7 separate regions of the Homo sapiens genome follow, and regions 1, 3, 4, 5, 6 and 7 are each linked to region 2. Evidence: promoter capture Hi-C in 16 types of primary human blood cells and fetal thymus (Javierre and others, 2016). All regions are on one chromosome and are shown on one strand. The core of a region is centred on a gene start or on the middle of the fragment in contact, and the rest is flanking DNA. Distances in the headings are between cores, read along the strand shown. Region 1 overlaps CEP295 (centrosomal protein 295). Region 2 holds the start of SLC36A4 (solute carrier family 36 member 4). Region 3 has its middle 8.2 kb from the start of SMCO4. Region 4 overlaps SMCO4 (single-pass membrane protein with coiled-coil domains 4). Region 5 has its middle 19 kb from the start of CEP295. Region 6 has its middle 42 kb from the start of CEP295. Region 7 overlaps CEP295 (centrosomal protein 295).

Region 1 (3,394 bases), core at 895-3,394, 510 kb before region 2:
TTCAGTACGGTTGCAGGATACAAAATCAACATACAAAAACCAGTAGCATTTCTATATGCCAAAAGCAAATCACCTGAAAAGAAATCAAGAAAGTAATCCCATTTACAACAGCTACAAAGAAAATTAAATACCTAGGAATTAACCAAAGAAGTGAAAGATTTCTACAATGAAACTTGTAAAAGATTGATGGAAGAAATTAAAGAGGACACACAAAAAATGGAAAGATATTCCATGTTCCTGGATTGGAAGAATCTCAACATTATTAAAATGTCCATACTACCCAAAGCAATCTGCAGATTCAATGCAATCCCTATCAAAATACCAATGATATTCTTCATAGAAATAGAAAAAAAATCTTAAAATTTATATGGAACCACAAAAGACCCAGAATAGCCAAAGCTATCCTGAGCAAAAAGAACAAAACTGGAGGAATCTACCTAACTTCAAATTATACTACAGAGCAACAGTAATCAAAACAGCATGGTACTAGCATAAAAAGAGACACACACAGATCAATGGAACAGAATAGAGAACACAGGAACAATTTCATACATTTACTGTGTACTCAGTTTTGAGAAAGGTGCCAAGAACGTACATGGGGGAATAGAGAGTCTCTTCAGTAAATGGTGCTGGGAAGACTGGATACCCACATATGGAAGAATAAAACTAGACCCTATCCCTCACCATATACAAAAATCAAACCAAAATGGATTAAAGATTTAAATCTAAGGCCTCAAATTTGAAACTACTAAAAGAAAACATTGGGGAAACCCTCCAGGTCACTGGTCTGGGCAAAGGATTTCTTGAGCAATACCCCACAAGCACAGGAAACCAAAGCAAAAATGGACAAATGGAATCACATCAAATTAAAAAGCTTTTGCAAAGCAAATGAAACAATCAATAAAGTGAAGAGACAACCAATAGGATGGGAGAAAATGTTTGTAATTACCCATCTGACAAGGGATTCATAACTAGAATATATAAGGAGCTCAAACAACTCTGTAGGAAAAAATCTAATTACCTGATTAAAAAATGGGCAAAAAATCCAAACAGACATTTCTCAGAAGAAATACAAATGGCAAACAGGCAAATGAAAAGGTGCTCAATCAACACCAGTGATCATTAGAGAAATGCTAATCAAAACTACTTTGAGATATCCTGCCAGTCCAGTTAAAATGGCTTTTATCTAAGACAGGTAATAATGAATGTTTTGCAAAGATGTGGTGAGAAGGGAACACCGTTGGTGGGAATGTAAATCAGTACAGCCACTATGAAGAGCAGTTTGGAGGTTCCTCAAAAAACTAAAAATATTACTACCATATGATTCGGCAATCCTGCTGCTAGGTATATACTCAAAAGAAAGTAAATCAGTACACTGAGGAGATATCTGCACTCCCATGTTGACTGCAGCACTGTTCACAATAGCCAAGATTTGGAAGCAACCTAAGTGTCCATCAACAAACAAATGGATAAAAAAAAAGTGGCACGTATCACAATGGAGTACAATTCAGCCATAAAAAGGAACAAAATCATGTCATTTGCAATAACATGGATGGAACTGGAGGTTATTATGTTAAGTGAAATAAGCCATACACAGAAAGACAAACTTCACATGTTCTCACTTATTTGTGGGAACTCAAAATTAAGACAACTGAACTCACGGAGATAGAGAGTAGAACAAAGGTTATCAGAGGCTGGGAAGCGTAGTTGGGGGTCGTTGGGGGAGTGGGGATGGTTAATGGGCACAAATAAGCAGTTAGATAGCAAAACAGGGTGACTATAGTGAATAATTTCTTTGTACATTTTGCAATAACTAAAACTATAATTGAATTGTTTGTAATAAAGTATAAATGCTTGAGGTGATGGATACCCCATTTACCATGATGTGAATATTACACATTGTATACCAGTATCAAACTATCCCATATACCCCATAAATAGATACACCTACTATGTAGCCACAAAAATTAAAAATTAAAAAAAGAATAATCTGTTTTATTTTAAAATGTCAAAAATTATAGCTCACTGAAAATTATATCCTTTACAGTTATTTTAATCCACAATTTAAAGAGATGTTAAAGTCAATTTTTTAATAAACCCTCAAAAGAATATCCCTTTCCTTCATCTCTCATTCCACTCAACTATAGATACAAGTAAGGTATCTTGTATAGATACAAGTAAATTATCTTACTAGGTGTACAGCTAAAATAAAAATAAATCTGGCTATAAAATGTAACTTCTTCTTTTTTTTTTTCAGATGGAGTCTCGGAGTCTCGCTCTGTCGCCCAGGCTGGAGTGCAGTGGCTTGATCTCGGCTCACTGCAAGCTCTACCTCCCAGGTTCACGCCATTCTCCTGCCTCCCTACAGGACTACAGGTGACCACCACTACACCCGGCCAATTTTTTGTATTTTTAGTATAGACAGGGTTTCACGGTGTTAGCCGTGGTCTCAATCTTCTGACCTCATGATCTGCCAGTCTTGGCCTCCCAAAGTGCTAGGATTACAGATGTGAGCCACTGCACCCGGCCAAAATGTAACTTCTTAAAAGATGCCTTACAACTAATAAAATAGTACTACAACTATACTTTGTAGGATCAGTACACAAATTATATATAAAATATCCTGTGCTATATATATATACATATATAAATTCAGAAGCGAGAAGATTAACATTGGCTGTCTTTGGGTGTTAGGATTAAGTGATTTAAATATTTTTCCTTCTAATTATCTTTATTTTTCCAAATATTTAAAAATAAACATAAAACAGCTTATTTAGAATGCCCACAGATAGAATTTTTAAAATATTTAACAGTATTTAATTAGATATGGATTGTTACAAATAGGCTTAAACATAAAATTTATGGATGCTGCCAATTGTATAAAACTCCTACCTTGATAAACTTCTTACTGGCATTTAATAAAACAATTTAAAAGCAAAATTACTCATTTAACAACTGCATAGAACAATATAGTTAACTGCATCATAACGATTCCATTAACAGCAGTAACTAAGTTTATTTACCATTTTTCACCATTACAAATAACAAAATAATAAATATCTTTTGTCCACATATCCTTGTGCATACAATTCCACTTTCCATTTATTTCTCACCTGCTTCATCATAGTCATCACCACAGACATTCTCTTGGCCAACCAGTTGAAGACAACTAAACGGATCATGGGCCAGTGGGCTCCCAAAGAAACTTTGTTCTCGGCTTATTGAGACTCGCAGGGGGTCTCTGTCTTCATAAATACCTGGTTTACCTGGGGGGGAAAAAATATTTCCACTTCAATTTCTGGAACTATTAATAGCTAGAACTAAAGTGCCAATTTATATTATGGGTAGAAATCTAAGCTCTTAAAGACTTACTGTATATAGCAATAATTCCTTA
Region 2 (3,505 bases), core at 1,002-3,501:
GGTGGTACCCTGTTATTTTCCTAACCAACAATTGTAATGACATATTTAGTATTTTGTTTTGTTCTGTTCTGTCACATGCTATATACTATGAACTCCATGACAGTAGGGACCATACCAACATTATTTGCCCTTCTAGCCCCAGCATCTAGCATACTTCCTGATATATGGAAGGTGCTCCGTAAAATGTGCTTGAATACATTAAAGACTTCTAAATGTTTCCTTTCATATACCTATGAGGCTATATTCAGTAACTTTCAACAACTGTTCATTGAGTGACTGGTATTTGTAAGTCACTGTGCTAGGCCTGTTTGGACAAAGACAAATACAGTTAATTCCTCAACAGGCCTAGCACAGTGCCTTGCACATAATAGTATACAGCATAGTATAAAGCCCAGAAAGAGGAATAATTATAAGTGGAGAAGTGTTGTAACAGAGATACGAACAAAGTGCTGCAGTTGCAAAGAAGGAAGTAGTTAAGATGTGATGCAAGAAGTTAAAGTCAGGAAAAGAAATGAATTTCCAGGGTTCAAATTGTCACATTCTGTATAATGTCTCTATTTTGATACAGCTGTACTTTATATCTGCTTCTAATTTATAAGACCTGGAGTAGAAGTCCTAGTAAATATGTTCTCAAGTAGAGATGCATGAAAAACATATTTCTCTTGAATCTTATGATCATTGTTATCACTTGCTTTATCTCCACATCACTGTAAAGACATTGGGCCTCCTACCTCAGCCCAACCCTCTTCAAAAGATTTCAGGCCTATACTACAAGTCAAACTTTTCTTCCTTCCATATTGCCAGATCTGCTTTCCCTGAAGCTGAGATTAGGGGACAATGACTTTTGATCCCTTTTAACTCTCAAAGGATAATGTTCTTTTAAGATGCTGTCCCACATGTTCTCATTATAATGAGTGGTTTATGGAAAATTACCTTGGTCCTATAATTTCTGTCTGATGCCTATCTTCTCTCCTGCTGATCTTTAACCAGGTGATCCACCCCAACACAGGTTAGGGAACATTGCTCTAGCTATGTTCCAGAATAGATTTCTTCTTCTTCTTCTTTTTTAAAAAAAATCTCCTTTACCCCTTTATTTGTCAGGAACACTTCAAATAAAACCTTCTTTTGGGATTTGCATGTGTATGTATGTGAACAAATTGGGTTCACTTAAAGGAAAAGAAAGGGGGTTGGCAAACTGTCATTATCACTAGTTATCTAGTGAAAGCCTACAGAGGATGCAACAGGAGGAAAGATGTAGATAGTATGTAACTGCGTACCTTTTTAATCTCAGAATTTTAAATATTTAACACCATTGCCATATAGTTACATCAGTGACTGTTAATCAGACCCACTCCCCCCCAAAAAAACCCTTTCCTAAAGCAACCCCACTGAATGAAACGGACACAAATAAAAAGGATTGTCTGGTGTACTGACTTCCAAGAACTATGAAGTGAAAAAAAAAAGAAAGCGATTTTAAAATTAAAATAAATATTTTCCTTTTAAACCAAAAGCTTGCTTCATCCATTGATTCATCGAATATTCATTGGTACCCATCTGGGAGGCCAGCTTTGCATATTTTTCGAGAGCTCCAGCTCTGAAGGCAGAAGGATTCTACTTCTGCCATGTACAAGCTTCCTGTCCCCAGACACGTTACTTACCTCCGTGCCTTAATCCCTTCATCTTTAGCGTTAATGTAAATATTAGAATTATCTCACAAATTGTAGTCAGAATTAAAGATAATGTATGTATGGTGCTTAGGAGTACTTGAAACTACATCAGTACACTTAGTCTTTACCTTAATTTTCTTTCAGCACCACGGTCAACGTCAAATATCTGGAAGGACATTGAAATATCCTGAAAGTGAAATTGTATATGACTTAATTAAATTCTATTTAAGTGTCTCCTGTAACTCTAACTATAGAAACAGGGAGACGAATAACCAGAGTAGTCAGAACCTCAGCATGGGTAGGGGACAAATCCCGTCCTTCTTCGCATTCTCCAAGGTGACTTACAGAACGCTAACGCCTTGCATACGGACAGGCGCCCCAAATTTAAGTTCGCCGTCATCTTTAAAACCCCCAGGGAGCTATGGGCCCGGGTCTCGGCTAGCTCTAAGGTCCCACCCTCGCTGATCTCAGGTTACCCAACCCTCCTCTCGGGTTACCCAACCCGGCCTCGCAGCAGTCCTCGGGTCTTCGGCCCCTCCCGCCCCTCGCCGGCGGTGCCCGCCGAGCCGGGCTGTCCCACTGCGCATGCTCCTCGCCGCGCGGTTGGGGAGCGCCGGGGCAGGGAGGCGGGCACCAGGCGCGGGTCCCTCCGGGCAGGGGAGGTAGGCCTGGGCCTGACGCCGGCCACGCAGCGGCGGGAGAGTGAGCACTCGGGCGGCGGCGTCCTGGAGACCCGCGAGAGATGGAAGCGGCGGCGACGCCGGCGGCTGCCGGGGCGGCGAGGCGCGAGGAGCTAGGTCGGTGTTGTGCGTGGGCAGGGAGCCGGGGCTGACGTGGGCGGGGGTCTGTGCGGGAGTCGGGTGCGCCCACACCTCCAGGGGCCCCGCGCTTGGCCTGAGTTGAGGCCCGATTGCTAACTGACCCCGTGGTCAGCATCCGCAAAGGAACCGGTTATCTGACCCCGAGAACTTGGTCAGACGAAGCCCAGGCCTGAATAGGGCGTTAAAATATGTGTGTGTGTGTTTGCGCGCGCGCGTGTGGGTGAGTGTGTGTGTTGAGTGGGGCGGGGCCCTGTGGGTACACGTCAAAGACGCAAGAGCCTGCGCCGTGACTCACGGTTTTTTTCCCAATGATGCTTTAAGGAAGTTATCATTGTTCTGCTTTTCAAATGCTGCAGCCCCATTCGGAATCTCCAGATGAATCCTCATTTTACTCCTTGTTATCCCAGAGTTTCGAACAGGTCGTGCTGACCAGAATGAACAGGAGATACCTGTAGCTTGCTCACTTGGCAAAGTTTGTTTGTTTTTTGCTGCTTTCCTCCCATCTTGTTTCTTGGCGACAGGGCGTGTTTGTTTACGGTTTCCCGCTGTCCAAAATAAAAAAGTAAGGATCAGGGTGGTAAAATGATCGCTCTCCCAGTTATACGTACTGTACTTGGGAGTATTTTTCATTCGATGCTGATTAAATGTAATTAAAAAATTAAATCTAAATGGAATCTTCAAGAAAACCGTTGAACTTTAAAAAATACCGTATTATAAGTAACTGATAGGTTGTTGTTATTCCTCTAATAGCCTGCAGGGCACTTTGCAATGGAATTGTTTTCAGGCCGTAATAATGGTAGAAACAATAAACTTAACATTTTATTGCGTGCTTACTGTGTGCAAACACTGTGCTAAGTGCTTTACCTATGCATTGTCTTTAATCCTCACAGCAACTGAGATAGGTGCTATCATGATTTCCATTTTATAGATACAGTAATTTTAAGCTTATTAATGGCAGAACCCAAATGTGAACTCAGGTTTCATTCATTAATAACCTGTCTTAGTGAGGATATGGAG
Region 3 (3,659 bases), core at 859-3,358, 350 kb before region 2:
GACTTATTAAGAACTCCTGCTCTGGGATCAATTGTTTCTAATCCATTTTCAGCCATAGACCCCTTTGAGAATCTGATCAAAGCTGCCTGTAGACCATCTCACTGGGAAAATAAACTCATCAGCAGATATAAAAATTATATCTTATCTGTTGAACCCTGACACCCACCCATGAACCATGTCCAAGTCTCTGGACCTCAGATTAAGAACTTCAGTTTTAGATGTACTATCAGCAAAAAGCACTGTCCCATTTAGAATTCTTTGCCTGTAAATAACAGAAATGGACTTTGGAACCATGTGGTTTTAGAGGCTTTTTGTAGCAGAAGCTCTGGACAGTCTTGTCTACATCCCATGCCTGGAATGAGTAAGCTCCATCTGTGGCCAGGCCTTTGACGTTCTGGTCACTGTTGACACATCTGAATAGTCTAGCTTGGGTAGGGTGTCCCTCAATCCCTTCACTAGGGGAAAGTTGCACACCTTGATGAAATAACCCAGCAGGCTGTATATAATAAGGAAGAATAATTTCCTAAAAGGAATTTGAGGCACTATTACAAAAAAAAAATTAAATTGATGTGGACATGAGGTAGGCAAAAGAGAAAACAAAGTCCTGTTAAAAGTAATAATGTGGGCCAGGTGCGGTGGCTCACGCCTGTAATCCCAGCACTTTGGGAGGCTGAGGCAGGTGGATCACCTGAGGTTAGGACTTTGGGACCAGCCTAAACGACATGGTGAAACCCTGTCTCTACTAAAAATACAAAAATTAGCCGGGCTTGTTAGCGGGTGCCTGTAATCCCAGCTACTCAGGAGGCTGAGGCAGGAGAATCGCTTGAACCCGGGAGACAGAGGTTGCAGTGAGCCGAGATCACGCCATTGTACTACAGCCTGGGGAACAGATCGAGACTCTGTCTCAAAAATAATAATAATAATAATAATAATAATAATAATAATAATAATAACGTGGCTGGGCACGGTGGCCTACGCCTGTAATCCCAGCACTTTGGGAGGCCGAGGTGGGTGGATCACCTGAGGCTGGGAGTTTGAAACCAGCCTGGCCAACAGGGTGAAACCCCATCTCTACTAAAAATACAAAAATTAGCTGGCTGTGGTGGTGCATGCCTGTAATCCCAATTACTTGGAAGGCTTGAACCCTGGAGGAGGAGATTGCAGTGAGCCGAGATTGTGCCACTGCACTTCAGCCTGAGCGACAGAGTGAAACTGTGTCTCAAAAAAAAAAAAAAAAAAAAAAGTAGTGATGAGTACTGACTTTTTTTTAAATTATAAAACATACTTTTTGGAAACATTTTAGTGTTTCCAAAGTCAGAATATGGCTCTATGGCTCTCAATATATGTAAACATTGAAAGCAGCCATTTTTCACCCCTCAAAAAGTAAACTGTTGTTCAATGACTGTTGCATCTTAGAGTTGAGGAGTCTCAGAACCTAGGAATTGTGTCCTTAACAAAGTCAATCAAAGCGATACCAGATGGATTCCTTCAAGTTTCAGGAAGTACTTCTACACCAATGCTCTTCATACCATTTTCTTTCCATCTCTGCACTTCTAAATCATGCTTACTTTGCCTAATTTGGCTCTTATTTCACATCAGATGTTTAGTACACTACTAAATGCTGAAAATTCAATCCCATTAAACAGGTGTTTGTTGAATGGTGGCTATGAATCAAGTTCTCTTGTAGACACTATGAGCATTAAAAAAGGAGAGTTAGATAGAGCCATCCGCTCTCCAGGCACTGACAGTTTAGGTGCAGAGACTGCATATGCACAGGAACTAGCAAAATACTCACCTGGAGTAAAATACTCACCTAAGTGCTGCAGCTGAGGGGAGTCAGGAATTCAGAGAGCAGAGTGTGGGTTGGATAGAGAAGGAAGCCCCTGTGGAAGAAGCTGGGGACTCCCTGTCTTGCCTCTGCACCTCTGGGGAGACAGGGCCCCAAGACTCCTCTCTGAAAGCAATGATGCACCGAGAAGTTGCACTTCTTGTCCTGATCATTGTCCGAGACATAGAGAAGCCTTGGGTGAGGAGGACCACGTCCCCAGGAGGTTCCTCACTGGGCCAATACCTGTTCATCTCTTTGGTCAAACTTTCAGATCACTTCCAGAAAGGTCTTCTCTGACCTTTCAATATAAAACTTGTTCTCTTTATAAAACTTTCTCATAGAACCTTGTTCTTTCTCTTCAGCACGCTTAACATCATTTGTAAAATTTGTAATTATATACATTTTTTCTCTCCACTGATCTGTGAGTTTCTCTAGGGAAGGAAAGGAGTATATGTCTTTTTTGCTTTTATATTCACACAACTCGATAAATTGCCTGCATGTACTAGGTGTTCCGTAAATACATGTGAAGTGATTGAAGAGTTAAGTATAGACTAGAAACGTTCTCATTGCTTTCTGATAAAGATGAAGCTCCCTTGGGGAAAAAGACATAGTTGATAGGAAACACCTTTGATGTTAAAAAATGTGCCAGACCAAAAGGTACAGCTGGTATATGAGTCACTAATGAAGATCTTGTGGTTATAGGTTTGAAAGTTAAGGTAATTAAGTGTTATTTTTTACTTTGGGATTTAAAAATGATAGTGGGCTATTTACAGCCTATGGAATAAAAGTGGAGCTCCCCTGCTCCCTTCTAAACACACCAACAGTTCCATTTTTGTTTTTTCTTCTCTGCCACATACTTTCCCTGAAAAAATAAAATAAAAATAAAAATAAAAAAAATTCAGGGTCTCACTGTCACCCAGGCTGGAGTGCAATGGTGCGATAACAGCTCACTGTAGCCTCAAATTCCTGAGCTCAAGTGCTCCTCCTGCCTCAGCCCCCCAAGTAGCTGGGACTACCAGGGTGTGCCACCACGCCTGGCTATTTTTATTTTTTAATTTTTTAAAATTTTTTGTAGAGATGCGGTTTCACCATGTTGCCCAGGCTGATCTCGAACTCCTGAGCTCAAGCGGTCCTCCTACCTCAGTCTCCCAAATTGTTGGGATTACAGGCATGAGGCACCATGCCTGGCCGAGTTCCACCTTTAATGATACACCCTGGGGAGTTGTGATTTTAGTGTGGTCTTACTTTCTCAAGCAAAACCCCCCAAAATTCTGAAAGGAGTTAGAAGAGCATGAAGACAGGCATGTTAATGACGCTCTTATTTCTTTTGAAATAGAAACTTGACATTTGCCAGCAGGGAGAAAGTTGTGGAGAAATTTAAAGGGTTCACTGGTGTTCTTGGCTTGAGAGCATGCTTTGGTTGCCGGCAGCAGGGGTAGAGTAGGAATTCCTTCCCATTCTTTAGCTAGAGACTTAAATTTCAGAAAACAGGGCAGTAAGCATGAAGATTTGGGTTGAACTTTTCAGTAGCGCTCTGGTGCTTTTTTCAAACGAAAGCAGAGATCTTAAAACTTTTCCTTATATGGGATTTCACAGCTTTATGAAAATGGGCATGCTTACTTAATTTCCAAGAATAGGTATAATTTTGTTTGAAGTCTTTAAAAGAATTACTACCAGTGAGAAAAAGACATTTTTATTATAACACTTGATACTTACATAAATGTACAGGACTTCAAGCTCTACGGCTTCTTAAATCCAAGAAGCTGGTAGTTTTCCCTCTTAACTTAGGGAGGGTAAGTTTTACCTCTTGGCCAAACATGATGGTTTGTGT
Region 4 (3,786 bases), core at 849-3,348, 300 kb before region 2:
ACTCCCAATTTCTGTACTTATCTGGTCATGACCCAGCAGCAGAGTTGGCACTGGTTTGCAGAACTCCTGTTGAGTACCACTGATCTAGTCTCTATCATTTTATGAATGAAGAAACTGAGGCCTAGTGAGAGAAAGTGCTATAGGTCTGGGACGAGCAGCAGGTGCCTCTGCTACTTGGAATATTTAGACAGGGCCAGATCTGGGGAGAGCAGATAGCAGAGTTGCCCTTCGGAGGCCAGCTGGTGTCCCTGTCGCTGTTCTGTACCCTGTTCAGTGAAAGCTGATGCTCCAGTGAGCCCCTGGGGCGACAAGCTGCTCAGAAGGCCTAGAAACTAGGGCAAACTGGTAGAGCCTTTGCTGCAGCTACTGAGCCAACAGCAGCAGGCAAAGAACCCTGTCAAGGGTAGAGGTCACGGCTTGCTGATGACTTAATTTCCAGCTGACTGCTTCAGTCTTTATAGACCCTCTAACTCAGGTCATATTTTTCCTCTGGAGCCCAATTTTAACTTTCCATATTTTCAGAATGGCAATTATCTCTTAGAGAATGGGGACTAGACTACATGCTGCTTTGATAAAGTCCAAACTCCTTTACTTGGCATTCATGACTCCTGAATAACCAACTCCCTTCCCCTTTCCAGTTCTGCGTCCCATCCCTCCCTTTTACATACCTTAATCTCTGGACTTCACCAAAATCAGTGCTCCCTAGTAGAAGAGGCTATAAGACATTAGGTTCTTAAATCCCCACAGTAGGTAAGTTTGTGATTGCCCAACTCAGGAACTAATGGAAAAATATGGCGAGGATAGAGGTCGGGCATACATCTGTGAAGCTCTTTGGGAATAAAAAAACAACAACTGTTTACATTTACTGCAAGAGAATATGAAGGCAGCACAGCAGCCAGTACCAACCACTAACATGAACAAAGTCATCTGAGACCATCTGGCCCAGTGGAGCAACCAGATGCCTATAGCCACATACATAAGCCAGGCAAGACCAGAAGAAAAAGCCCAGCTGAACTCAGCACTGATTGCTGACCCACCATACCTTGAAATGAAATGTTTGTTTGAAACAAAACAAAAAGCACGGTAAACCAAGATTTATCTTTACGTATTTTAGTAATGATAGGCATTGTACCATTACTCAATTATGTCTTGCTTGTTATGGACACTTTTTGGAGTCTCCCACCTTTTTACTTTCAAGGGAACTCTTATTTATTTTGCTTTATGGGTAATACCCATACTAAAAGCTCCTTTCCCCCAGTATCTGGGCTTCCAACTTAATATTTAATGCCACTGAGGTTTTGAGTTAATTTGTTGGCTGTCCTCTGTGGCTGTCACACATCTCTCTTCCTTTCCTCTCTGATGTTATGGGACGGTAGTTCGGATGCCTGGGTCACTTTCTCATCTTTTATTTTTCCCAAGGCTTTGGTTTAAAAGCCTCTGTTCCTTCACCTTCCGCGTTTGTTTCTTTTCTAATCCCAAACCTGTATCCTTCATTTTTAAATCAGTGATTTTTGATTGCAGGGAACAGCCATGGTCTCATGGCGGCTTAAGTTAGCAGCGAGTTTGTTGTAGAAATCCCAGGAATACAGGAAGCAAAGCTTGACTGCCTGCTGGGCACAGGAGTGGGAAGGCCCCTCTAACTCCATGCAGGGGCTGCTTGGTCCTGTCCATCACGCACATGCACACATGTGCCAGTGTATCTGTCTGTCTGCCCTTCTGGAGCAGGGCGGTGACAAGTGTCTATCCCTAAGCCAGTTGGGAGAGGGGAACCGTGTGACTGCCCTCTCAGCATGGGCTGAGGGGGTTCCAAAAAAGGAGTCTGTGGAGGGATACCTCCCCAGCAGCTATTATACCCTTTCTTCTAATTTCTCAACAGGAATAACTCAAGTCACCTGTACTGGAAATCAGTTTGCTGAAATTAATCAACGATTCTTGAAGTTGAAGAAAAGGTAAACATTCTCTTATAAGGGAAACTCATTGTCTGGGGAGAGGTTACTGTCCCAGTCATTTCTCTCATATGCCTAGTTTTGTGTGTAATATTTTACCCCTTCTCTCTGCCTGGCCAAGTTCCTCTTCATCCCTCAAGATCTTTATCAAATGCCACCTTTGTCCTTTGTGGAGGATCTCCTCCAGGCTGCGGGTGATTTCTCCTGCTGTTGAACCCCCACGACACTTTCTCCTTCCTGTGATGTTTGTGTTCTCGTTTGCCCTTCCCCTGATGGTCTCACCCTTCCTCTCTTGGCCAGTCGGGTAGAGGTCTGTGACACACCCCCCATCATAGTACTTACTTCCACGCTTTATTCTCGTTGCCTGTTTTTGTGTTTTCCCCAGTAAGCTGCTTAAGGGTGCATCTGAGTTGTGCCTGGGACACAGTCGGTATTCCATAAATGTTTCTCGAATGACTCATGAAGGAGCCTCTCCACAAGAGGCCTGCTCCTGTGTGGACCCACATTGTACCCCCACCACGCCTCCCTTACTGGGCCTGTACTAGGAATCATTCTTAAATACATTATGATCTTTGAGCATTCATCCGAAATTCCTGATCTTCGCCAGGTGTCCTTTGGCTATTGGTGAAATGAAGCTAATAGCAAAGCTTTTGTATCTGATACTTTTTTTTCACATTTGATTTTGGACCCATGTTAAGAGCAGGAATCCAGAAGTGGGGAGGGAGGTGACAGGCAGAGCTGGATGCCAGTGGTCACTGGAGCACAGCTCCCCAGCCCCCTTCTCCGCTTGTGGCGGGTGTGAGTGGGGGTTGCATGTGGGGGGCTTTAGGTCTCGCTGTGGTTGTAGCCCCTCCTATCTGCTGCACAGGTGGATCACCTTCTCCATCTGTGCCATGCTCTCGACTGCTTCACTCAGTGACTTTGTGTCTTAACCCACCTCCCTGCCCCCAACCTTTGTCCTTTAAATGAATAAGTCAGCAGGTTCCTTTTCTCAAACTGTTTACTGTAACTGCTAAAGATCCCATAAAAGTTTCTTATTAATTTTATGAGTTTATGCATCATAGCCAGAGGGACAAAGCATAGATTGTGGGTGTTCCCAGAGATACAAATTTCCAGAGATTGTTTTGCGTATTCATCTGCACATTGTTGTCTGGGTTTGACGTGTATTGGGCTTCAGTGTGAGGCTTTTAATATGTATATCCTGTTATCAATTAAGAAATTATCCAAGTGGTTGAATCCTGTGAGACTTCGCAAGTGTGTGCAAATCTAGTATACTTGACTTTTCAACCTCTTCTTTCAATGTAACTTTTATACAAAATAAATAATCAACTGACAGTTCTCAAAAAAAAGAAAATCAGTTTAATTGGTCACCATCATCTTGGAAGACTTGACTCAGCCCTTTCTGCCTAACAGTAACCAGCAACTGTCTCTCACATTTGTAGAGTGCTTTCTCTTTTGCAAGGTGCTTTGACACACGTCGGCAGATTTTCTTCTCCCACCAGTCCTGGGAAGCAGGCAGAGGCAAGTGGTAACTTCTCATTTTCAAAGTTGGGAAATAAGCTCAGAAGTTCAATGTCTTGCATAACATCATGAACTGATGTGAATGGGGTTCAGTTCCCCCCAACCATCTGATCTTGGTACCCCCCTTTGGAAGCCATGGCAAACTAACAGTGTCACAGAACCGTCTCTACCCTCAGTGTTCCTTTGAGGGAGGGGAGTCTTGACCTTCTGTTGAGAGTCTGACCCTGGTGCTCCCTCCACCCTCAGCCAGGCAGCTTTCTTGAAAAAGCAGATATGTTCCTCCTGAGACCTTCCAGTCAGTCTTGAAAGTTTTGTTTTT
Region 5 (3,491 bases), core at 35-2,534, 440 kb before region 2:
TGTGTTCCACATCTCTGTGCTGAGTCCAGGCTGATAGGCCAGTCTCTTCCTGAAGCATTCCCTGTTGTTGAGACCTGGGGAAAAGAGATGGCAAGCCATGCTCTGGTTCCTAGTGGCACTTCTCACTTTTCACTGGCCATGTCAGCCTTAGCTACTCTGGAGTTCAACAGGGAAGGCTTCTATAATCCTCACAGAAAGGAGAATCAGAATATTTGGTGGCAAGTAAATCTAGTCTACTGCAATGAGTCGAGGGTTTTGAGGAACACATTTGGGATCAAAATTCAGGGGTCAAGTACAATGCATGACAGCAGGGCCATAAATGAAAGGGAAGACCAGTAAGGCTACAATCCACCAGAACTGAGGAGCACAGGGATTCGGAGCAAGGGTGGGATCAAGTGGGACTGTATGGACACCCTGGGCAGTTTGTGTTCCCTGATAGGTGCTAGCTGGGACATGGATGAGCTGGCTGGCTTAAAGGTTCACAAATGTGCAGACTTTGGGAACACAGCTTGTTAGGGTCCATCTGAGTAGTGTGAGCTGTCCATCTGGTGTTTGCTGACCCTCATTGCCTTGTTTTCTGCTCTCCACACTGATCACCCTGGGGAAACTGAGGCAGCATGTTATACCAGTGAGGGTTCTAGAACATTTCCCAGGTCTATGGCCTTAAGAGGATCATTTTTGGACATCGAGTACTTCTTTCTTAAAATAGATAATTTATATTGGACTTATATAATAAGTCCAATTTATATTGGACTTATTATATGAGTCCAATAATTTATATTGAAGGCTTTTAATTTATATTAAAAGCCTTCCAACCCACTTTAAAGAACTTTTGATTTAAAAAACCCATTAGGAGAGCCTTGCAGATAGCTACTTGTCTGGGATAAATGGTGATATATGAGGAGAAATAATCAAGAATGTTAAATTAGCTTTGTTTTTCTATTACTTGGAGCAATATCAAGGTAAACTCTGCTACCTAGAGGAAAAGACAAAGAATCAGTGCAAACAGGAACTTGGATTAGGCAAAGAAGCACAGGATCCAATTCTTCCCCTTTTAGACCTTGAGAAAAAGTGTAAGTGAGTTTGGTTCAGCAGTCTTTACCGCTCCTTTATTTAGTGTTCATCTCACGAGTTTGGAAACTGTGCCTCCTCTGCCGTCTTGCATCCCACTCAATACATGTACTACCCAGATTTGCCTCTCAAGGCCTGTCTCAGTGTCCCAAATCTTTTTCCCACTATTGAAATTACCGTTTAATTTCCTTGTTTAAGAGCACTACCTGAGGAATCTGTGAATAGACTAACTCAGAATAAATGACTGGTAACCAGTCAATATGTTACTCTTCCTAGGAAAATTTGCATTTAAAATCTTCCCAAGGACAATGCTTCAACTAAGAAAAGACTGCCGTAATGGTGCAATATGAGGCAATGCAGCTTGCCAGTAGGGGAGTTGTTTTGTTAGGGGCCCTTCCCTGGTTTATTTCTAGTCTCTTCTAAATAACCTGTATTTATGAGCACCCAGCTTGACAAACAATTCAAGCAGCCCAGCTGCTGGTGGCTTCTGCATAGTACTGTACCACTTTTCTTTTCTTTTTCTTTTTCTTTTTTTTTCTTCTCTTTTTTTTTTTTTTTTTTTTTTTTTTTGAGACAGAGTCTTGATCTATCCCCCAGGCTGGAGTGCAGTGGCATAATCTCGGCTCACTGCAACCTCTGCCTCCTGGGTTCAAGCTATTCTTACACCTCAGCCTCCTGAGTAGCTGGGATTACAGGCGCCTGCCACCATACCCGGCTAATTTTTGTATTTAGTAGAGATGGGGTTTTGCCATGTTGACCAGGCTGGTCTCGAACTCCTGACCTTAGGTGATCTGCCTGCCTCAGCCTTCCAAAGTGCTGGGATTATTGGTGTGGGGCACCGCACCTGGCCCCTGTACCACTTTTCTTCAAGATAGTTGTGAATCTGGGTCTCAGGTGTCTATGCCTGCATGGTCAGGAAAAAACTAGTCATTGTAACACTAGTTATAATTTATCATCAGCCTTCATGATTTCCCAAGCACTTTCACGTGGATTAACTTTGTTGATACTCAAAAAGCCTATGATGGAGGCAGTGCAGGTTTATTATCCCCCATTTTATGGATGTGGAAACTGACAGAGGGATTAAGTGACTTACCTAATTAGTTTCTCTATACCCAATCCAGTGATCTTTCTTCATGTAGTGCTGCTCCTTCAGCCTCTGGCACGGCCTGGACTGCTGGTGCTTAGAGTTTGGATCAGGCGGGTGAAAGTGCAAGATGGCAGGGCCACATCATCTGTCAAAGCCACTGATGTTTGGTATACCTAGGACATGGCCACAGTGTTTTGCCACGGGGCATCACCTGGTGGGGGAAGGTTCCTATATTGGTATTCTGCATCTGTATGGGTATTGATTTATTTCTCAAAGGGCTCTGTCTGCCATCTATCTAATGATGTTACTAATCTTCATCCCAGTCCTTTGAGGATTTTTATCCCAGTGCTTCAGAGGTGCCGGTTTCCAGGGTTACCAGAAATCCATAGATTAAAGCCTTTCTCCAGCTTTCTTGTCAAGGTCCTTATCAGTAGAATTTTTTTCATCATCTTCATTTTCTGGATGGTGTGTCTCTTACAACTTTTCTCTTTTACTTCTATCTGCAGTTAGTCTGTGAAGAATAATCCCCGAGAAGCTGCTTTGTGCAGAAGATGTAAAATAAATTATAGACACTGTGTCCTCAATGATTGTTTAAACAAAACCCAAACAACCCTACATCAGGGCCAATGTTGTGAGGTGGAAAGTGCTCTGCTTTTGAAACCAGCAGATCTGGGGCCTGTGGGACCCATCTCAGCTTGTCAGTAACTAACTGTGTGGTCCTGACCTAGTCCCGTAATGGCTCCTGGCTGAGTTTGTTTTAATAACTGCCATATTGGTTTGGGAGGCTTTGATGAGATGATTCTGTCAGACAGGGCTTCTCAAACTTTAATGGGCTTTGGAGTCACCTCTGAGAAATCCAGGTTAAAATTCAGATTCTAGGCTGGCTCATGCCTGTAATGGGCTTTGGAATCACCTCTGAGAAATCCAGGTTAAAATTCAGATTCTAGGCTGTGGCTCATGCCTGTAATCTCAGCACTTTGGGAGGCCAAGGCGGGTGGATCACTTGAAGTCAGGGGTTCCAGACCTCCCTGGCCAACATAGCGAAACACTGTCTCTACTAAAAATACAAAAATAATTAGCAGGGTGTGGTGGTGTATGCCTGTAATCCTAGCTACTTGGGAGGCTGAGGCATGAGAATTGCTTGAATCTAGGAGGTGGAGGTTGCAGTGAGCCGAGATCACGCCATTTTACTCTAGCCTGGGCAACAGAGAGAGATTCCATCTCAAAAAAAAAAAAAGGAAAAAAAAGAAAAAAATGCAGATTCTAAATCAGCAAGTCTGAGGTGGGGCCTGAGATTCTGATTTCTCCTAGATTCCCAAATGACACGACCAAG
Region 6 (3,841 bases), core at 1,007-3,506, 420 kb before region 2:
CAGGGTGAGTCCATACAGTAAAGTGAAATCAAGTTTATTAGGAAAGTATAGGAATAAAATTATGGCTATTCCATAGAGCAGCTTCTAGGGCTGCTGGTTGCCCATTTTTATGGTTATTTCTTGATGATATGCTAAACAAGGGATAGATTATTCATGCCTCCCCCTTTTAGACCATATAGGATAATTTCCTGACTTTGCCATGGCATCTGTAAACTGTTGTGGTGCTGGTGGGATAGCAGTGAGAAAGGATGACCAGGGGTCACTCTTGTCGCCATCTTGGTTTTGGTGGGTTTTGGCCTGCTTCTTTACTGCAACCTGTTTTATCAGCAAGGTCTTTATGACCTGTATCTTGTGCCAACCTCTATCTAGTGCCAACCTCCTGTCTCATCCTGTGACTTAGAATGCCTTAACCATCTGGGAATGCAGCCCAGTAAATCTCAGCCTCCATCCTATTCAAGATGGAATTGCTCTGGTTCACACGCCTCTGACAAAATCTCAGCTGGAATTGTAATCCCCATGTGTCAAGGGAGGGACTTGCAGTGAGTGAGATCTGGTTGTTTGATAAGTGCGTGGCACTTCCCCACTCTCTCCCTCTCTTTTCTGCTGCCATATAAGACATGCCTTGTGCCTCCTTCACCTTCTGCCATGATTGTAAGTTTCCTGAGGCCTCCCCAGCCATGCAGAACTGTGAATCAATTAAACCTTTTTCCTTTCTAAATTACCCAGTCTCAGTTATTTCTTTATAGCAGTGTGAAAACGGACTAATACACAGCCCTTTTTGGAGACATCCAACACAATGGTAAAATGCATTTGAACTGATGCTTAAAAGTTTGTTCCAGGAAATTGAGGATTGCCAGTATTATTGAATGAATCTGGATAAACCAATGATAATTGATAGTGATAACAAGTATAGCTACTCTTCATTAAGTGCTCCCTTAGTGTGTGTTAGGTGTGATGTTAGGTGCATCATTTCTATCTTCTAGAAAACAGCATGGGAAGGATGGTATTGTTATACCCATTTTACATATTAGGAATCTGAGGCTTAGAGACCCAGTAGTGCAGGGGTTCCCTGCAGCAAGCCGTGAAAGGTGCAGAATGGGGCATCCTGCCTCCACTTTCCTCAAGTATCTAGCCCTCCAGAATGTCCCACCTCAGGTCTTCCCTGACCTGGGCCACACCAGTCAAGACTCACTGCTTCCTTTCCCTATCTGAAGGTCTCTTATGTTCAGACTCTTTCTAAGCCTGCCTTCTGCTCACTAACAAAAGGTACTAACAGGTTTTTAGTTAAACTTCTTCCATCAAATATGTTGCTCCTTTAAGTTGACAGCTTTGACTCACCCAGTTAAAATTTTTCCTTAAGAAAGTACTTAGCCAAGAACAGGCAGGAGAGAATTTTGAAGAATTTAGAAAGTACAAAGAGCTGACGATTAGCCTCCACCATTTGGAGGAATGGCTATACCAGCAGGATGGGTTATGAATAAATGCAGAAGGAATGGACCCTTTGAAGAATGGTTCTGGACAACCAGCCATACATATGAAAAAGCACAAAATTAGATTCCTACTTCATACCATACACAAAAATTAATTTCAGGTGAATTAAAGGCTTAAATGTAAACAAGTGAAGAGGATATGATATTATTTCTAGGACCTTAAGTGGAGACGAGTATTTCCTAAATTAGACACCAAAGCTCAAAACATATTGAATAAACTGATTAACTCCAATTATATTAAAGCTTAAAACTTATGTGAAGTTGAAGATGTGAATACCCTACAGCCCAGTACTTGTATGGTTATTGGTTATGGATAGATCTAGAGAAACTCTCATACACAGGCATGAAGAGGAATGCAAAAGTTTGTTCACTGAAGCATTGGTTATAATATTAAAGAAATTAGAAACAGTCTAATTGTTCCACAGTAGGGGAATAGAAAAATGAACTGTGGTTTATTCATATAATGTAATAACATTTAGTAGTTAAAATGAATAAACTAGATTTATATGTAGCAACAGGGATAAATCTCAAAGTCATGCTGAGTAAAAAAAGCAAGTGCAGTGTATATACAGAATGATGCTTTTATGAAAATTTTAAAATGCAGGGAATGACATTAAATATTTTTAATATGGCTACCTGCATATGCAGAAACGTATCAAAACCACAGGAGGATACACACCAACTTCAAAACAATGGGAATGGGGGAGGGAACTGGCATCACAAAGCGAAGACTTCATTGTATTTTATGCTTTGTTTCTTAAAAAGGATTTGGGTTCAATGTGGCAAAATATTATCCTATGTTAAATCTGAGTAGGAATAACAAGTGCTTTTATTACATTGCTTACTGTATTTTTCTTACGTTTTAAACAGTTTGTGTTTTTAGAACCCCTAAAGAATGATAGCAAGGCTGTGAGGTCCAGGTAAATACGAAAGATAAAATTTGGAGAACGTAGATTGTATTTGAAGTTGCAGCTTGTGAAGTGCCTGGTGGCTTGCCTGGTGGCCCATCAGCCTGCCATCTCAGGACCATTTCCTTTGAGCCCAGCCCTGGTCCAATTGATAATGCTCCAGCCCCTCTCCTGCTTCCCCCTGACCTGTCTTTGGGGTACCCTCTGCAAGCAGAAAATAGGTTGAATGCTCACTTGTCTCTACTTACTGTTCCCAGCTACCCAAGCTCATTCCTATTTTCCTTTTCATGGTTAAAAATTCAAAAATCCGAGGTGAATAATGAGGATGCTGTTGAAGAAGGAGAGGAATTCCAAAAGGTCTCACTTCTTAAAAAAGCTTTATGTTTTTCAAGGCTGTGTCATCTACATTATTTCAGTGGCATTGCATGTTAACCTTGTAGACAAAGCAAGTATTTTTATTTCCATATAACTGATGAAGAAACTGAGTTATTGCAGAGCTAAAAATCATTAAAATAATTAGTGAGATGGCTGAAACAAGAAGCCAGTCTGAAGTCCCATTATATAGGCTCTTCATAGTGTAATGAATTGAGTGTGGTGTGTGACTAACATGGTAAGTACAGGTCTCCAAGGGGGCGTTGGGTTGAATTGTGTCCCTACAAATGACATGTTTAAGTCCTAACCCCAGTACCGTGAATGTGACCTTATTTGGAAATAGGGTCTTTGCAGATGTAATCAAGTTAAGATGAGGTCATACTGGGTTAGGGAGGGCCCTAAATCAAATGACTGGTGTCCTTTTAAGGGAAACACACAAACACATACACACACACACACACACACACACACACACACACACAGAGGGAAGAAGGGCATATGAAGACTGACGCAGATTGGAGTAATGTAGCTATAGCCAAGGAACACCAAGAATTGCTGGGATCTGCTAGAAGCCAGGAGAGCAGCTGGGAGATGATTTCTCTTTCAGAGCCTCCAGAAGGAACTAACCCTATGGCCACCTTGATTTAGGACTTCTGGCCTCTTGGACTATGAGGTAATAAATTTACGTTGTTTTAAGGCACTGAATTTGTGGCAATTTGTTACGGTAGCTTTAGGAAGCTAATACAGTCACCCAGGCTTGGGGTGATCTCAGACAAGGTAATGCCTCAGCTGAGAACTGAAGGGCTAGTATAGGGATGGTTTGGGGAATGTGTTCAGCCACAAAATATGGAAAACCCATCCAAAGTAGCTTAGACAAATAGGGTTTGTTTCTTTCCCATAACAAGAAGTCCAGAGATAAGCAGTGCAGGACCCTTGCTTAATGCCATGGAGGACCGGGTCCTTCCTGTATTTCCACGTTACTATCTCTAGGTTGTTGGTGTCTTTTTTTTCTTCTTCTTCTTTGAGACAGGGTCTCACTGTTGCCCAGGCTAGAGCACAGTGGTAAGATCA
Region 7 (3,679 bases), core at 927-3,426, 490 kb before region 2:
TCAAAAAGATTAGCAATTGCTAAGACCACGAGTCCTATGTTTGCTGTCTGAGAAACAGCGAGCAAGCTGGCATCTACAGTGCAGAAGATGGGTAGGGAGGTGTGGCAGGCAAATGAAGTCAGAGAGGTAGTGAGTATGGGAGTAGTGGTGGTGGGGGTGTATGTGTGCAGGTCACATAAGGCTTTGAAACCACTATAAACTCTCTGGTTTTTACTGAGTGAAACTGACAGTTACTGGAGGGCTTCATCCAAAGAAATGACATGAGATTACTTGTTTTTAAGAGGACCACTATGTTAATAGACAATAACAGGGAGGTGCAAAGGCTGATGATAGCAGGCTACTACAAGAATCTACCCTAGGAAATGAACATGGCTTAAGCTAGGATGTAGGTGGAAAGAAATGGTTGGACTATGGATATATTTTGAGGGTAGGACCAACTGGATCAGCTAATAGTTTGGACATAAGATACATAAGATATGAAAAGAGGGAACCAGAATGACTATAAGCTTTTTGGCTTGAGCAAGGGAATTAACATATTGCCAGATACTGAAATGTGGAATACTGTAGGAAAAGCAGGTATGTGGTGGGAGGGGATATCAACAGGTCACTTCTGAAGAAATTTAAGATATTATTAGATATACAAGAGAAGGAAACAGTTAAATAAGTAAGGTGAGTTCAAACAGGAGGCCAAAAATAGAAATGCATACTTGGGAGACATCAGTTTACAGATGATAATGTAAAGTGTGACATTTGAGATCAACTAGGGAGTTTTGATATAAAGAGAAGGGACTTGCGGAATGAGCTGTAGACTAACCAACGACTAACAATGGTTAGTCATTATGGAGATGTGGATAAACAGCGAAGAAAATGCAAGAGAAAATAGTAAAGTACGAAAACCAAGTGAAGGTGCTGTCAAGGGGCCAAGGGAAGAAAATACTTCAAGAAGGCTTCCTGTGGGACTCAGGATAAAATCCAAAACCCAAATATAGACCACAAGTCACTCTTATCAAAAGCATAGAAGCAAAACATTTCTATACAAATCCAATCACATTTTTAAAATCATCCCAATCAAGGAGATACTTGAATTGTGTGTGAAAAGATACTTTGTAACTTCTGGAAATATAGTTAATAGCCTATTTTTCCAATCAGAAAAGTATTTAAAATTAGCAAATAAGAAACTAAATACCTAGTGGGAATACAACACGCTCAAAAGCCATTAACATGCTCATATATCCTTTGATCAGGAGTTATTCTTTAAAGAGTCCTTCCTAAGGAAATAAAGATGTGGGCAAAGACTTCACTAAAAGGATGCCCACTGTAGCACAAAAATGCCAAGAAAAATTAGAAAACAGCCTGAACATCTCAATAAGGAACTGGTTAATTTTGATTCATTGATTACTTTGCAATTAATATATATAAATAACTATACTAGATTAAAAGTGGTCCGGAAGAAGATTCACTAAGGCTTTTATAATGTTTCTTTGTTGCTTTTAATTAGCAGGATTATGTTTTGTTCCTTTTAACCTCTATTCTTTGATTTTTCAGAAACGAACCTACTTTTGAACAACTTAAAAGGGTTTATAGAAAATGAGACTCTTGGAGAGAAATACCTTGTTCCTGCCCAGAGGATAACGTTCTCTCTTTGCTGGCAATTGTTCCTGACTCAACCGTTGGTGCTTTACTCTCAATTTCACTAACAGTCGTAATCATTTCACTTTCATCCTCAGACATAGATTTAATTGTCCAGAGAGATTTTTGGCTTCGGATCTTATTTAATAATTTTTTAAAAAGAACTTTTGAAGGAATCTGTTGGGTCTTCATTACCAAGGGAACTAAAAGAAAGAAAAAGGGAAAAAACTTATTTAGCATCTATTGTATTACCAGGCAAATTGTTCCATCTTATATTCGGTTACTGCTATAACCACTAGTTAAAAGCACAGTTTTATTTTCCTCATATTTACGATTTAACAGTATATACAACAATGCTATCTGACTCCAATCATTATAACTAGAAATAATTTTTTCAACTGAAAATAGTAAAAGTGCCAAAATTCAAGTATTTTCCAAAAACATGTATGCAACACAAATATCAAGCCTAAAAAACTTATCAGGAAGATGTTTATTTTGCTTGCTAAATGATAAATGAATGTGTAACTTCTAATTAATTTGCTGGTAAGATTAGTATTGAAAATATATGCTGTGAGGTTCTATAGTCTACACTAGAGAATGGTCCCAAATATGGCTCTGTATTTCTTAGTGAGCTACAGAGGAAAACATCATAGCCATAAAAGCAAATCAACTGCTCCCAAATTATTCTTGGCACTATCTGGGAAAAATGTCTCCCACCCATCTTCACACAGAGATCCCTTCAGTTAAAAACAAAAACAAAAAAACAACACAAGTATTTCTTCAAACATTTTCCCATGTGGGCTGATAGTTTAATGCCAAAACTCAGTATAATACGAACAGTTCTCTAAGAGGACAAAAGTGTGATGCAAGTACATATTTCTCTGGCTTAGTCAAGGAATAAAATTTAAGAATATCTTTAAGAGGTTGAAAATAGGCAGATTGTAGTTTTGTCTAACTTATATTAAAAAAAATTCCAATTGAGTTATAATTCACAAAGAACAAGGTGCACAAAAACCTAAGTGTATAGCTTACTGAATTTCACATATGTCAATGTACCACCTTTCAGATCATGTGGAACATTACCAGGACTAAGGTTCCTTCATGTCCCTTCCCAGTCAATACACCCCTAAAAACAGCCCCTACTTTAACCCCAAGATCACAGATTAGTTTTGCCTGTTTTTTTAAAACCTTCATATAAACATGGAATCACACATTTAGGTATTATTTTCTGCCTGGCTTCTTTCATTTACCATTAGTCCACAACCCACTCATTTTTAAGAAGTAAATTCATTGCCAATATTTAAAAGTAAGGATTTTTAAAAACAATGAGATTTCTAGCTTCAAACAAACAAACAAACAACTTGGCAACACCAAGCCAATAAGACCAAATGAGATCAGCAGGAGCTAAAGTGTAACTGTCCCTTTAGATTGGGCAAGACTTCCATTGTGACAAACTAGATATTGATACTCCCAATGAAAATAACTGAAAAAGCTGCATGAAAGAGTAAAAATATCTTTTTTTTTTTTAAGATGGAGTTTCACTCTTGTTGCCCAGGCTGGAGTGCAGTGGTGTGGTTTCGGCTCACTGCAGCCTTTGTCTCCCAGGTTCAAGCGATTATCCTGCCTCAGCCTCCCATGTAGCTGGGATTACAGGTGAGCGCCACTACACCCGGCTAATTTTTGTATTTTTGGTAGAGACAGGGTTTCACCATGTTGGCCAGGGTGGTCTTGAATTCCTGAACTCAAATGATCCTCCCACCTTGGCCTCCCAAAGTGCTGGGATTACAGGCATGAGTCACCGCACCTGGCTGTAAGAATATCTTTTTAAAGACACTGCTGGCCGGGCATGGTGGCTCATGCCTGTAATCCCAGCACTTTGGGAGGCAGAGGTGGGCGGGTCACAAGGTCAGGAGTTCGAGACCAGCCTGGCCAACATAGTGAAACCCCGTCTCTGCTAAAAATACAAAAATTAGCCAGGCATGGTGGTGTGTGGCTGTAGTCCCAGCTACTTGGGAGGCTGAGACAGGAGAATCACTTGAACCCGGGAGGT

Evidence for each region. Contacts are between HindIII fragments. The CHiCAGO score rates a contact against its expected background, and 5 or more counts as called.
Region 1: a contact is called between a fragment that was not itself captured here and the fragment with the promoter of SLC36A4 in region 2, in 5 of 17 cell types (total CD4 T cells, fetal thymus, monocytes and 2 more). The highest score is 6.2, in total CD4 T cells.
Region 3: a fragment that was not itself captured here is called in contact with the fragment with the promoter of SLC36A4 in region 2 in 3 of 17 cell types (fetal thymus, activated CD4 T cells and total CD4 T cells); the score reaches 7.1 in fetal thymus.
Region 4: a fragment that was not itself captured here is called in contact with the fragment with the promoter of SLC36A4 in region 2 in 1 of 17 cell types (M0 macrophages); the score reaches 5.7 in M0 macrophages.
Region 5: a contact is called between a fragment that was not itself captured here and the fragment with the promoter of SLC36A4 in region 2, in 14 of 17 cell types (total CD4 T cells, monocytes, naive CD4 T cells and 11 more). The highest score is 16.0, in total CD4 T cells.
Region 6: a contact is called between a fragment that was not itself captured here and the fragment with the promoter of SLC36A4 in region 2, in 5 of 17 cell types (M0 macrophages, M2 macrophages, monocytes and 2 more). The highest score is 9.5, in M0 macrophages.
Region 7: a contact is called between a fragment that was not itself captured here and the fragment with the promoter of SLC36A4 in region 2, in 1 of 17 cell types (non-activated CD4 T cells). The highest score is 5.4, in non-activated CD4 T cells.

Annotation. Positions count from the first base shown.
Region 1 is chr11:93,706,617-93,710,010 of GRCh38, reverse strand. CEP295 (centrosomal protein 295) reads right to left here. Exons shown (of 30, transcript NM_033395.2): 18 at 3,114-3,266. Among named protein-coding and RNA genes, the nearest start is that of SNORA25, 22 kb to the left of the region's middle. The HindIII fragment of the contact is 2,535 bases long and covers 877-3,394 here.
Region 2 is chr11:93,196,737-93,200,241 of GRCh38, reverse strand. It overlaps SLC36A4 (solute carrier family 36 member 4), which reads left to right and starts at 2,251. Exons shown (of 11, transcript NM_152313.4): 1 at 2,251-2,464. The coding sequence starts at 2,410. RefSeq lists a silencer at 2,110-2,489. The HindIII fragment of the contact is 1,801 bases long and covers 1,634-3,434 here.
Region 3 is chr11:93,549,737-93,553,395 of GRCh38, reverse strand. It overlaps a transcript of SMCO4 not described here. Among named protein-coding and RNA genes, the nearest start is that of SMCO4, 8.2 kb to the right of the region's middle. The HindIII fragment of the contact is 7,691 bases long and covers 1-3,659 here.
Region 4 is chr11:93,497,439-93,501,224 of GRCh38, reverse strand. SMCO4 (single-pass membrane protein with coiled-coil domains 4) reads left to right here. Exons shown (of 3, transcript NM_020179.3): 2 at 1,877-1,949. Among named protein-coding and RNA genes, the nearest start is that of SMCO4, 44 kb to the left of the region's middle. The HindIII fragment of the contact is 995 bases long and covers 1,601-2,595 here.
Region 5 is chr11:93,640,549-93,644,039 of GRCh38, reverse strand. No RefSeq gene overlaps it. Among named protein-coding and RNA genes, the nearest start is that of CEP295, 19 kb to the left of the region's middle. The HindIII fragment of the contact is 6,443 bases long and covers 1-3,491 here.
Region 6 is chr11:93,618,260-93,622,100 of GRCh38, reverse strand. No RefSeq gene overlaps it. Among named protein-coding and RNA genes, the nearest start is that of CEP295, 42 kb to the left of the region's middle. The HindIII fragment of the contact is 1,041 bases long and covers 1,736-2,776 here.
Region 7 is chr11:93,685,797-93,689,475 of GRCh38, reverse strand. It overlaps CEP295 (centrosomal protein 295), which reads right to left. Exons shown (of 30, transcript NM_033395.2): 10 at 1,611-1,832. Among named protein-coding and RNA genes, the nearest start is that of CEP295, 26 kb to the right of the region's middle. The HindIII fragment of the contact is 3,336 bases long and covers 509-3,679 here.